Linked DNA regions of Homo sapiens: region 1 is linked to region 2. The links are contacts of gene promoters, found by promoter capture Hi-C in blood cells and fetal thymus (Javierre and others, 2016). All regions are on one chromosome and are shown on one strand. The core of a region is centred on a gene start or on the middle of the fragment in contact, and the rest is flanking DNA. Distances in the headings are between cores, read along the strand shown. Region 1 overlaps ANO1 (anoctamin 1). Region 2 holds the start of PPFIA1 (PPFI scaffold protein A1).

Evidence for each region. The method cuts DNA at HindIII sites, captures the fragments that hold promoters and counts their contacts. A CHiCAGO score of 5 or more calls a contact.
Region 1: a contact is called between a fragment that was not itself captured here and the fragment with the promoter of PPFIA1 in region 2, in 1 of 17 cell types (neutrophils). The highest score is 5.3, in neutrophils.

What each region holds. Positions count from the first base shown.
Region 1 is chr11:70,181,998-70,187,144 of GRCh38, forward strand. It overlaps ANO1 (anoctamin 1), which reads left to right. Exons shown (of 26, transcript NM_018043.7): 24 at 505-689; 25 at 3,593-3,698. Among named protein-coding and RNA genes, the nearest start is that of FADD, 19 kb to the right of the region's middle. The HindIII fragment of the contact is 986 bases long and covers 2,172-3,157 here.
Region 2 is chr11:70,267,218-70,271,939 of GRCh38, forward strand. PPFIA1 (PPFI scaffold protein A1) reads left to right here and starts at 3,473. Exons shown (of 28, transcript NM_003626.5): 1 at 3,473-3,697. RefSeq lists silencers at 3,058-3,607, 3,648-4,077. The HindIII fragment of the contact is 13,908 bases long and covers 1-4,722 here.

The DNA.
Region 1 (5,147 bases), core at 1,415-3,914, 86 kb before region 2:
TTGGTTTCCTCTCTTGTAAGGGCACCAGCCAGAGCCGGTGCTATAATAGAATGAGCCGGGTGAGGACTTGAGAGCTTGCAAAGCACTTTCCCTTCCTGCCTCATTCCCTTCTCCAACAAGCCCAGAGGCACAGTGCATACATGGTGTGGGTGTTGTTAGCCCTGTTTTGACAAGAAGAAAATGGAGGCACAGAGAGGTTGGGTGATTTGCCCAAGGCCACACAGCCAGCAAGAGGCTGCCAGCGTCTGCCTGGTGCCTTCTCTCCTAGAAGTGCACTGTTCTGGCCACCAGGCACTCTCCTTCAGCTGCCAGGGGGCTGAGAGGAACACCCGCGACCCTGCATCCATTCACTCAGCATGCCGAGGCTGTGCGGCTATGGTCCCCGCCAGAGGCAGTGGCATATGGCCAGGGTCCAGTGTAACTGTGGATGGGTCACCCCCTGTTGCGGCCGGCCCTTCTGCGCCCAGGCTGGGGGTCCCCCTCACTGCCATGTCCCCTGCACAGGCCTTCGTGATCTCCTTCACGTCTGACTTCATCCCGCGCCTGGTGTACCTCTACATGTACAGTAAGAACGGGACCATGCACGGCTTCGTCAACCACACCCTCTCCTCCTTCAACGTCAGTGACTTCCAGAACGGCACGGCCCCCAATGACCCCCTGGACCTGGGCTACGAGGTGCAGATCTGCAGGTACTGCTCTCTGCTCCCCTCTTTGAAAAGCCACGTTTATTGGGTTTCTGGGAGAGCCTGGGTTTGGACGGGGCTCAAATCAGGAGCAAGTCATGAAACAACGCAAACTTGCTTAAAAAGAAGAAGAAGGAAAAAAAAAAAGGCTGGTGCAGTGGCTCACACCCGTCATCCCAGCACTTTGGGAGGGCCAGGCAGGAGGATCACTTGAGCTCAGGAGTTAGAGACCAGCCTGAGCCACATAGTGAGACCTCATCTCTACAAAAAATTTTTTAAATAGCCGGGCGTTGTGGCACTCACCTGTAGTTCTAGCTACTCGGGAGGCTGAGGTGGGAGGATCAATTGAGCCTAGGAATTTGAGGCTGCAGTGAGCTATGATCGCACCACTGCACTCCAGCCTGGGCAACAGAGTGAGACCCTATCTATAAAGAAATAAACAAATGCCTAAGGGGAGGAAATTAGAGGTGATTTACCAGTTCCTGTAACTAAGAAGCCCAGGATAGCTTCAGGCATGGCTGGATCCAGGAGCTACAGTTTGCCATCAGGCTCCACTCTGGCACTGCCTCTCCACTTTGATTTCCTCTGTGTTGCATTGTTCTCTTGCTGATGAAAAGGATCCCTAGCAGCTCCTGGCTTCAATCCTTTCTGCTCTGCAGCCCCTGTGGGAAGACCTTCTGTTTCCCAATAGTCAGTGAAAATCCAGGGACTGAGTCTTACTGCCCCATCTTGGGTCAGATGTCCATTCTTGAACCAACCACTATTGCCATGAGGAGGGGGGCTCTCCTTGGCTTGGCCTGGGTCATGTGCCAGGGTGTGAGGTCACAGAGAATGGGGGGGTCCTAGGGAAAACTGGGGTGCTATGACTTGAAGAAGAGGAGACAGATGCTAGCAGGCAAAGCCTTGAGCACAGAATAAAGAGGAACGAGCTGGTGCGTGTGGCTTCTGACACTGGGAGGACAGGGCTGCTTGTTCCCATGGGAAAGCAGGTTGTGCAACTTCTGCCTGGCCCAGCAGCTGGCACCAGAGCCGTGGCCCAGCCTGATCCTATCTCAGGAGTTGGCAGCTCAGTGCTGAATAGGCCCTCGGAGACTCCCATCCAGCTCCCTCCAGAAATCAAGCTCCGTAGGCAAGGGCCCTATCTGTTGTGCACCGCCCCCCACCCCGGAATTCTCCATCCCTGGGGTGGGGTCTGGCACATAGTAGTTGGTCAATAAATGCTTGTGACATAAGTAAGTGAGGGAATGCCCAGACTGAGGCCCAGAGAGGTCAAGTGATTGCCCAGGGGACACACAGCAAGGTGGTAGTCGGAGTGGGCGAGCACCAGGGATGTGGGTCCAGGCCAGGGCTGTGCCTGCAAATCCAGGTGGCCCTTCTCCTAGCCTCCCCGACTGACCTCAGGTTTTAGTGACCAACAGGGGCACAAACGGCCCCTGAGCCCCTGGAAATCCTGCCCCTCATGGGGGCATTTTCTGTCCAGCTTTGGGAAGCTTTTCCAATGCAGGGTGGGGACGTCAGCTCCATTCAAGCTATGTTCCAGCTGATGTGTGGCATCCCCCAGATTCAGGGAGCTGTGGAGGGAGGGAGGCCCTAGGCAGAGACCTCACCCTGCCCCCACAGACCCTGGGCATCTCTGGGTCTCTGTGAAAAGAGGAAGGGGCTGGGGAGAACTGGAGCACGGGCAGTGGTCATGAATGGGGCAAGCCTCCTTCCTGAGGCTCCAATCATATCCACGAAGAGCCAAGGTCAGTGGCAGGACCTTGGGGAGAGGGGTGTGAGTGAGCTTGACTCTCCAAGCAGGAGATCAGTCAGCTACATCTAAAGCTGGTAATGAGAACCAGGGGCAGTTCCTTCAAGATAAGGAGGTGAGGACCAAGCAGCAACCCTGGAGGAGGAAAAGCAGCCCCAGACCCGGGTAGGGCAGGGCGGGCCAGGCCGGCTGCCTGACACGCCTCTGCCTGCACCAGCGGAATGCTTAGCTTCGTTCTTTCGCAAATGTTTGATAAACTGCTTAAGTTACTTTGATAAAATGTTCAGGGTATTGTTTTGCTGTGTTTTTTGGTTGTTGTTTGGTTTGCTTTTTTTAGAGACGGTCTCACTTTGTGGCCCAGGCTGAAGAGCAGTGGCGTGATCAAAGCTCACTGCAACCTCAACCTCCCGGGCTCAGGTGATCCTCCCACCTCAGCCTCCCGAGTAGCTGGGAATACAGGCGTGCACTGCCAGGCCCGGCTAATTTTTGTATTTTTTGCAGAGACAGGGTTTTACTGTGTGGCCCAGACTGATCTCTAACTCCTCAGCCTGAGATTACAGTGCTGAGGTTACAGGCACGAGCCACCACACCTGGCTAATAAAGTGCTCAGAGGTTTTTCTTTGGTAGATTCCCTCAAAGAGGGGATGGACTGGAGGGGTGTTTCATGGAACCCATTCTGAAGTTCTGTGGAGCATGGGCGTTGGGTTGAGGTTCAGGAGGTTCAAGCTTAGGGAACCCCCCCGACTTCAACCAAGTAGGCTCTGCACTCTTGGGGCCTATTGGAGTTTCCAGTGAGACCTTTTGGGAACAAAGGCTCCACTGCTTTTAAAAGTTTGCAACCTCCTGGACCACATGGTCCCCACCCTTGATTCTGTGAGCCCACGGCTGGGCCTGGGGATACTTCCTGCCACATGTGTTTTACATGAAGCCCGTCAGGTCCTGCCTGGCCCATGGGGGATCCTGACCAACCCCCTCCACTGTGGAGAGAGACTCCGTGGGTGCGGGGCCATGGGCTGCTCGCCCAAGAGAGGGCTGCCCTCCCGGAGGCAGCCGCACACCAAGCTGAGCCTCTCCCAGGCGTCCCTCGAGCTGCCTGACTCCAGCCAGAGCCTGAGCCCCACCGAAGTCCCACCCTCGACTCCACCACGGTCTTTTGCAGGTATAAAGACTACCGAGAGCCGCCGTGGTCGGAAAACAAGTACGACATCTCCAAGGACTTCTGGGCCGTCCTGGCAGCCCGGCTGGCGTTTGTCATCGTCTTCCAGGTGCGGTGGGTCCCTCTTTGTTTCCGGTTTGAAGATGGGAGCATTTAGGGACCATCCTGTGCCTACAGTCTGGAAGTCAGGAGCTGCTAAAGCCAGGGGTTCAGAGACTCCTCCAGAGGCTTGGAGAACTTGCTCTGGGACACCCGAGGAGGGGACTTGGCCGACCCCAGGCCCCCTGCACTGACAGGGCCCAAGACAACCTCATGAGAGAGGAAGGCCAATAGAGGGGCCGGATGAGCACCGGCAGAAGGGTTCTGACTCGCTGGTGGGTTTAATCCAGTAGAAGTGTCTTTATTGAAAGAGACAGGGGCCAGGCACAGTGGCTCACACCTGTAATCCCAGCACTTTGGGAGACCGAGGCAGGTGGATCACCTGAGGTCAGGAGTTCAAGACCAGCCTGGCCAACATGGTGAAACCCTGTCTCTACTAAAAATATCAAAAATTAGCCGGGTGTGGTGGTGCACACCTGTAATCCCAGCTACTCAGGAGGCTGAGGCAAGAGAATCACTTGAACCCAGGAGGCAGAGGTTGCAGTGAGCCGAGATCGTGCCACTACACTCCAGCTTGAGCAACAAGAGTGAAACTCCATCTCAAAAAAGAGAGAGAGAGAAAAGAAGGAGAAGGAGAGGAGGAGGAGGAGGACGAGGAGGGGGAGGGAGGAAGGAAGGAAGGAAGGAAGGAAGGAAGGAAGGAAGGAAGGAAGAAAGACATGGAGAAAGGGGACCCCACCTCTGTCCCTCTCATTCTCACACCATGTCTGTGGTAGCAGGCAGAGTCAGGACAGACAGGAGGGCAGTGGGCTGTCAGATGACCCCAGCTGCAGCCAGCAGCCAGGGGACCCAGCCCCAGCTGGCCCAGTCTCTAGGGAGGGGTCTGGGCCAACTCTCTGAGGCCAGAGGGACTCCCAGTGGAGCGGGACCCCAGGCTAGGGTGCCAGCTGTGCACCGGCAGCTGAGGTCCCAGAGAGGCAGTATCCTGGGCTGTGGGCACCGCCAAGATTCTGCTCGCAGGTGTCCCTCTAGTCTCGATTAAGTCGATGCTAGGAAGGCAGTGGGCCAAGGGCTCTGATTCTGGAATCCCCAAGACTGGGTTCAAGTCCCAGTTCTGTCACAGGGCAGGCCCTTCCACTCCTCTAAGCTCAGTGGCCCCATCCATCAGCTTTTCACAGCAAGCAGTGCAAAAGGTGTGTGGGGCTGGGTTCCGCAGACCAGAGCCTGAGAGCCCAGCAAGGAGGGGTCTCGGCCAGAGACAGCCCAGCCTTATCCCAAGGGAGCCCCGGAGCAGGCATGGCACCCCAGACCTGGCCTCACCTGGAGGCAAGGCAGCCCCTAGATGGACCAGTCACTGCTTTGGGCTGACCAGGCTGGGAAGAGGGAGATGGGATGGGGCATAAGTTCTGCAGCTGCGAGCGTGAGCAGCCAACCCCAGCCCCAGCTGGGGACTGGGAGC
Region 2 (4,722 bases), core at 2,223-4,722:
CTGTAATTCCAGCACTTTGGGAGGGTGAGGTGGGAGGATTGCTTGGGCTCAGGAGTTTGAGACCATCCTGGGCAACATGGTGAAACCTCTTTTCTACCAAAAATACAAAAAAGTTAGCCAGGCATGGTGGTCTGCGCTGGTAGTCCCAGCTACTTGTTGGGGAGCTGAGGTGAGATGACTGATGGGCCTGGGAGGTAGAGGCTGCAGTAAACTGTGTTCGAACCACTATATCCCAGCCTAGGTGACTACATGAGACCCTGTCTCAAAAAAAAAAAAAAAAAGAGAGAGAAAAAGAACAAAGGAAGGGTAAGGGGAGGGGAGGGAGGGAGAGAGAGAGAGGAAGGAAGGAAGGAAGGAAGGAAGGAAGGGAGGAAGGAAGGAAGGAAGGAAGGAAGGAAGCAAGGAAGGAAGGAAAAAGAAAGAAAAGAAAGAAATAAAATGAAATTCAGAATTCTCATTTTCCTGGAGCTATACCAACTGGGTGTCTCCCTTCTCCGCTGGAAAAATCCCACATCATTCAAGACCCAGCTCAGATATTGCCTCCTCTATGAAGCCCCCATGATGCCAGCTGGAGAGCGGGTTCCTCCCTTCCCTGTGATTCCACAGCACCAAGTCACACACTGTTTACGGGACAGACATTGCAATAGTCTGTTTTTCTTCTCTTTCTCCAGACTGTGAACTCATACTAGAAGTGATGTCTTAGCTCTGCGTTCCCAAGACCTAAGCCATGCTTGGCTCATACATGCTGCACAAATATTCATGAAATGAATGAACATTCTACCCTGCCGAACTAAATTTTGATCTTGAGCCGATTTTTCTTTTTTTTTTTTTTTTTGAGATGGAGTCTCGCTTTGTTGCCCAGGCTGGAGTGCAGTGGCGCGATCTCGGCTCGCTGCAAGCTCCGTCTCCCGGGTTCACGCCATTCTCCTGCCTCAGCCTCCCGAGTAGCTGGGACTACAGGCGCCTGCCACCACGCCCGGCTAATTTTTTGTATTTTTAGTAGAGACAGGGTTTCACTGTGTTAGCCAGGATGGTCTCGATCTCCTGAACTCGTGATCCGCCTACCTCGGCCTCCCAGAGTGCTGGGATTACAGGCGTGAGCCACTGCGCCCGGCCTTGAGCCGATTTCTTAGAAAACAGACACTTTATGAGCATGGTGCAAACATAAGCTGGCTGCATTAAGCAGGTACCCCTAAGGAGAGCTGGAAATTTGCTGGTTTCAGACAGTGGTTCAGGGGAACTTGGGAGTTGTGCAGAATTGCTGGGGTGTGGAGAGGTACAGGGTACTTGCAGAACACCTCATCTAAGCGATCAACTTTACAATTTTATTATTTTTGAGACAGAGTCTCGCTTTGGCACCCAGGCTGGAATGCAGTGGCACAATCACAGCTCACTGCAGCCTCGACCTCTCAGGCTCAAGCGATCCTCCCACCTCAATCCCCCAAGTACCTGGGACTACAGGTGTGGCCCACCTTGCTGGACTAATTTTTAATTTTTTGTATAGACATGGGTCTCGATATATTGCCCAGGCTCAAGCAATCCTCCCACGTTGGCCCCCCAGCGTGCTGGGATTACAGACGTGAGCCACTGCACCTGGCCAATGTTTTTTTTTTTTTTTTTTTTCTGAGACAGAGCCTCGCTTTGTCTCCCAGCCTGGAGCGCAGTGGCATGATCTCCTCATTGCAACCTCCACCTCCCAGGTTCAAGCTATTCTTCCACCTCAGCCTCCTGAGTAGCTGGGATTACAGATGCCCGCCACCACACCCGGCTAATTTTTGTATTTTTAGTAGGGATAGGGTTTCACCATGTTGGCCAGGCTGGTTTTGAACTCCTGACCTCAAGTGATCTGCCCACCTGGGTCTCCCAAAGTGCTGGGATTACAGGCTTGAGCCACCGCACCCGGCCTCACCTGGCCATTTTTACACTTTTAAAATAGCAAGAAACTAGGGGCAAAAAGTACATATTCATATCTATGTGTAGTCAGTCAATAAATATTTATTGAATGAACGAATAAATTAATGGAAGGTGTTCCAGATCCTGGTAGGCGAGAGTCAGTCGGAGGGAGTGCTTGTTCTTGGTGCACTCACAATGGAGAATCAAGGAATTCACCTTGGACGGGCTCATTTCTCCCTCTCCTAGGCCCCGTGCAGCCTCTTCTCAGACTTACTAGTTCTGAGGGGCTCCTGGCTGCCTCACACCAACAGCAGTGGCCAGTGGACACTGGCGATGGTGTCCTGACATTTTGGTTTGTGAAGAGTTTGTGCTCCGAGTCAAATCCTGGGAGGAGTGGGGAGGGCATCCGCTTTAATTAATTAGAGGTGTCTCTATTCATCTCCGTATCTGCAACATCTAGCACAAGACTTGGCCCATAGTAGATGTTTAAAAATTCTTGCTGAGGCCGGGCGCAGTGGCTCACGCCTGTAATCCCAACACTTTGGGAGGCTGAGGCGGGCAGACCACCTGAGGTCAGGAGTTCGAGACCAGCTCGACCAACATGTAGAAATCCCGTCTCTACTAAAAATACAAAATTATCTGGACTTGGTGGCGTGCGCCTGTAATCCCAGCTACACGGGAGGTTGAGGCAGGAGAATCACTTGAACCCGGGAGGCAGAGGTTGCAGTGAGCCGAGATGGCGCCATTGCACTCCAGCCTGGGTGACAAGAGTGAAACAACGTCTGGAAAAAAAAAAAAACTTGCGGAAAAGATGAAATGACCAAGACTCGCGCAGTGCTGCCCGTCAGGCTCTCAACTAGTCGCTCTTCACATCTGATTCATGTCTTAAAGCAGCCTCGCAGGTAGGTCTGCATCATTTTCCCATCCTACATCGGAGGCGCTGAAGCCCAGGCGGGTTTCCCGAGTCGCCCGGGCCCACGCTGCAGAGTGAAAGCCACAGCGGCAAAGCCTGCACTCTGGACGCTGCGCCGGGACGTCCCCAGGTGCGGCAGGCAGCGCTCCGTAAGTGGGTCCTGGCGGGAACTCCGTCCTTCTGAACCCAGATCAGGCCCAGGGAGACCGTAGGGGCGCCGCGGCGGGCGGGGTCTGGGTCCTCGGTGGTGACTGAAGCCTCGGTTCGCTCTTCTGCAAGGTGCGAATCCAGAGCCTCCAGCTCGGGAGGGACCTGACGTGCCGGACGCGTCCAGCTCAGAACTCGAGGCGCGGTAGACACTCAGCAAAGGCCTCCGGCGTCCCTGCAGCCGTGGGGGGAAACTGGGGACGCCCGGAGGAAGACGCTGACCCGGCGAGCACCTGAGCGCCCACCTGTGGCTCATCCCGGAGACCGCCCCCTCCCCCGCGACCCGGGCGGGGCCTGGGGGGCGTGGCTCCCGTCTCGCTCAGCCAATCAGTGCCCCGGGGCCGCCTCCCGCCCCCTCCTGAGGAGACAGCGCTTGCGTACTCGGGCCAAGGTGCTCCTCGGGCCCCGCCCCCGGGGCGGTGCTGACGCTCGCGCCGACGCGCTCGACGTCGGGCACGTAGACGCCGGCGCCGCGCAGCCGGGCCCGCTCCTCCTCCGCTCCGCCAGTGTCCGGCCGCGGGCCGGCCTTAGTGACTGGGGCGGCGGGCCCCGGGGCCGCGGCGTGGGGCGGGCAGGCGGACGCCGGCCGCGGGCTGCTTTCGTCGGCTCCCAAGCTCTCCCGGAGCGAGCAGCCGCCCGCGAGCCGCCGCGGAGCCTCCTCGCCCGCTCCCGCCGGCGAGCAAGGTAAGGGAGCGGGACACTGAGGCAGGCTCGGGGCCCAGGCGTCACCGGCGCGTCCCGGTCTCCGCGGCGGCCACGCAGCCGATTAGATGTCTCCGCGGGGAAGGGTGCGCTCCGGGACGGGTGGGGGCGAGGCCGCGGCGCCGGGTCGCGCTGGGAGAGCTCCGGCGGGACACCCGCGCCCCAAGGGACGGCTCCGGGGACTGCGCGCTGCCCCTCCCCGAGCCCCGCGCCCCGTGACCCGGGCGCTGGGGCGAGGGGCGGGGACCTGTGGCCGCTGAAAGCCCTGGCCCGAGCGGGCTCCGTTGTCAACGGTCCTCACCCCCCGGGGTTCGGGGCTTCCGCCGCACCTGATACAGGAGGGGAGGAGTGCGGCTCGAGCAGGCTGGAGGTCACCATCCCCATCAGGTGCGCCGTCTGGGGCATCCCCCTCTCAGGGGTCCACCGCGCCCCCAGTACTGCCCGAAAGGCTCAGAAGCGACTTCCCCTTTCCCTGGCGCTGTCTTTATATCCCAGACACTTAATAGACTCTCGTAATCTCACCTTTCACTTTTCCCTCTTTCCTAGCCGCCCCCGGCTGTATCGACCTGCTATATTTCCATTGTGGATTTTTTTTTTCGGTTGTAAACTTACGTAAGTTAGGTTGACCAACCGTTGCAGCCATTGGAAAACACTTCTACCAGCGTTTAACGAATCCGGTTCCTTTTAGTGCTCACCAAATCCAGCCCAAGAATTCAGGGAGCCGTCAGTTCTTCCCGGGAGCTGACTGCACACATTCCTGCAAGATGCCTGATGGATTTTGTACTTGTCAGTTTTGCTGGTTGTATGCTCCTTCTGTGCTTTTCCTGAAAAATGATTGGGTGACATGTGTTTTGACTTTCTCCCCCCCTACCCCCCCACCCTCCCCACCCCACTGGGAAGTAAAAAAAATAGGTAACAGAAGCACACTTGTTTTCAGCAAAAACAAGTACAGCTTTGCAAACAGACTACCCCAGGGCTTGCCCTTTTTTGTGAGGGTAGTCCTTTGG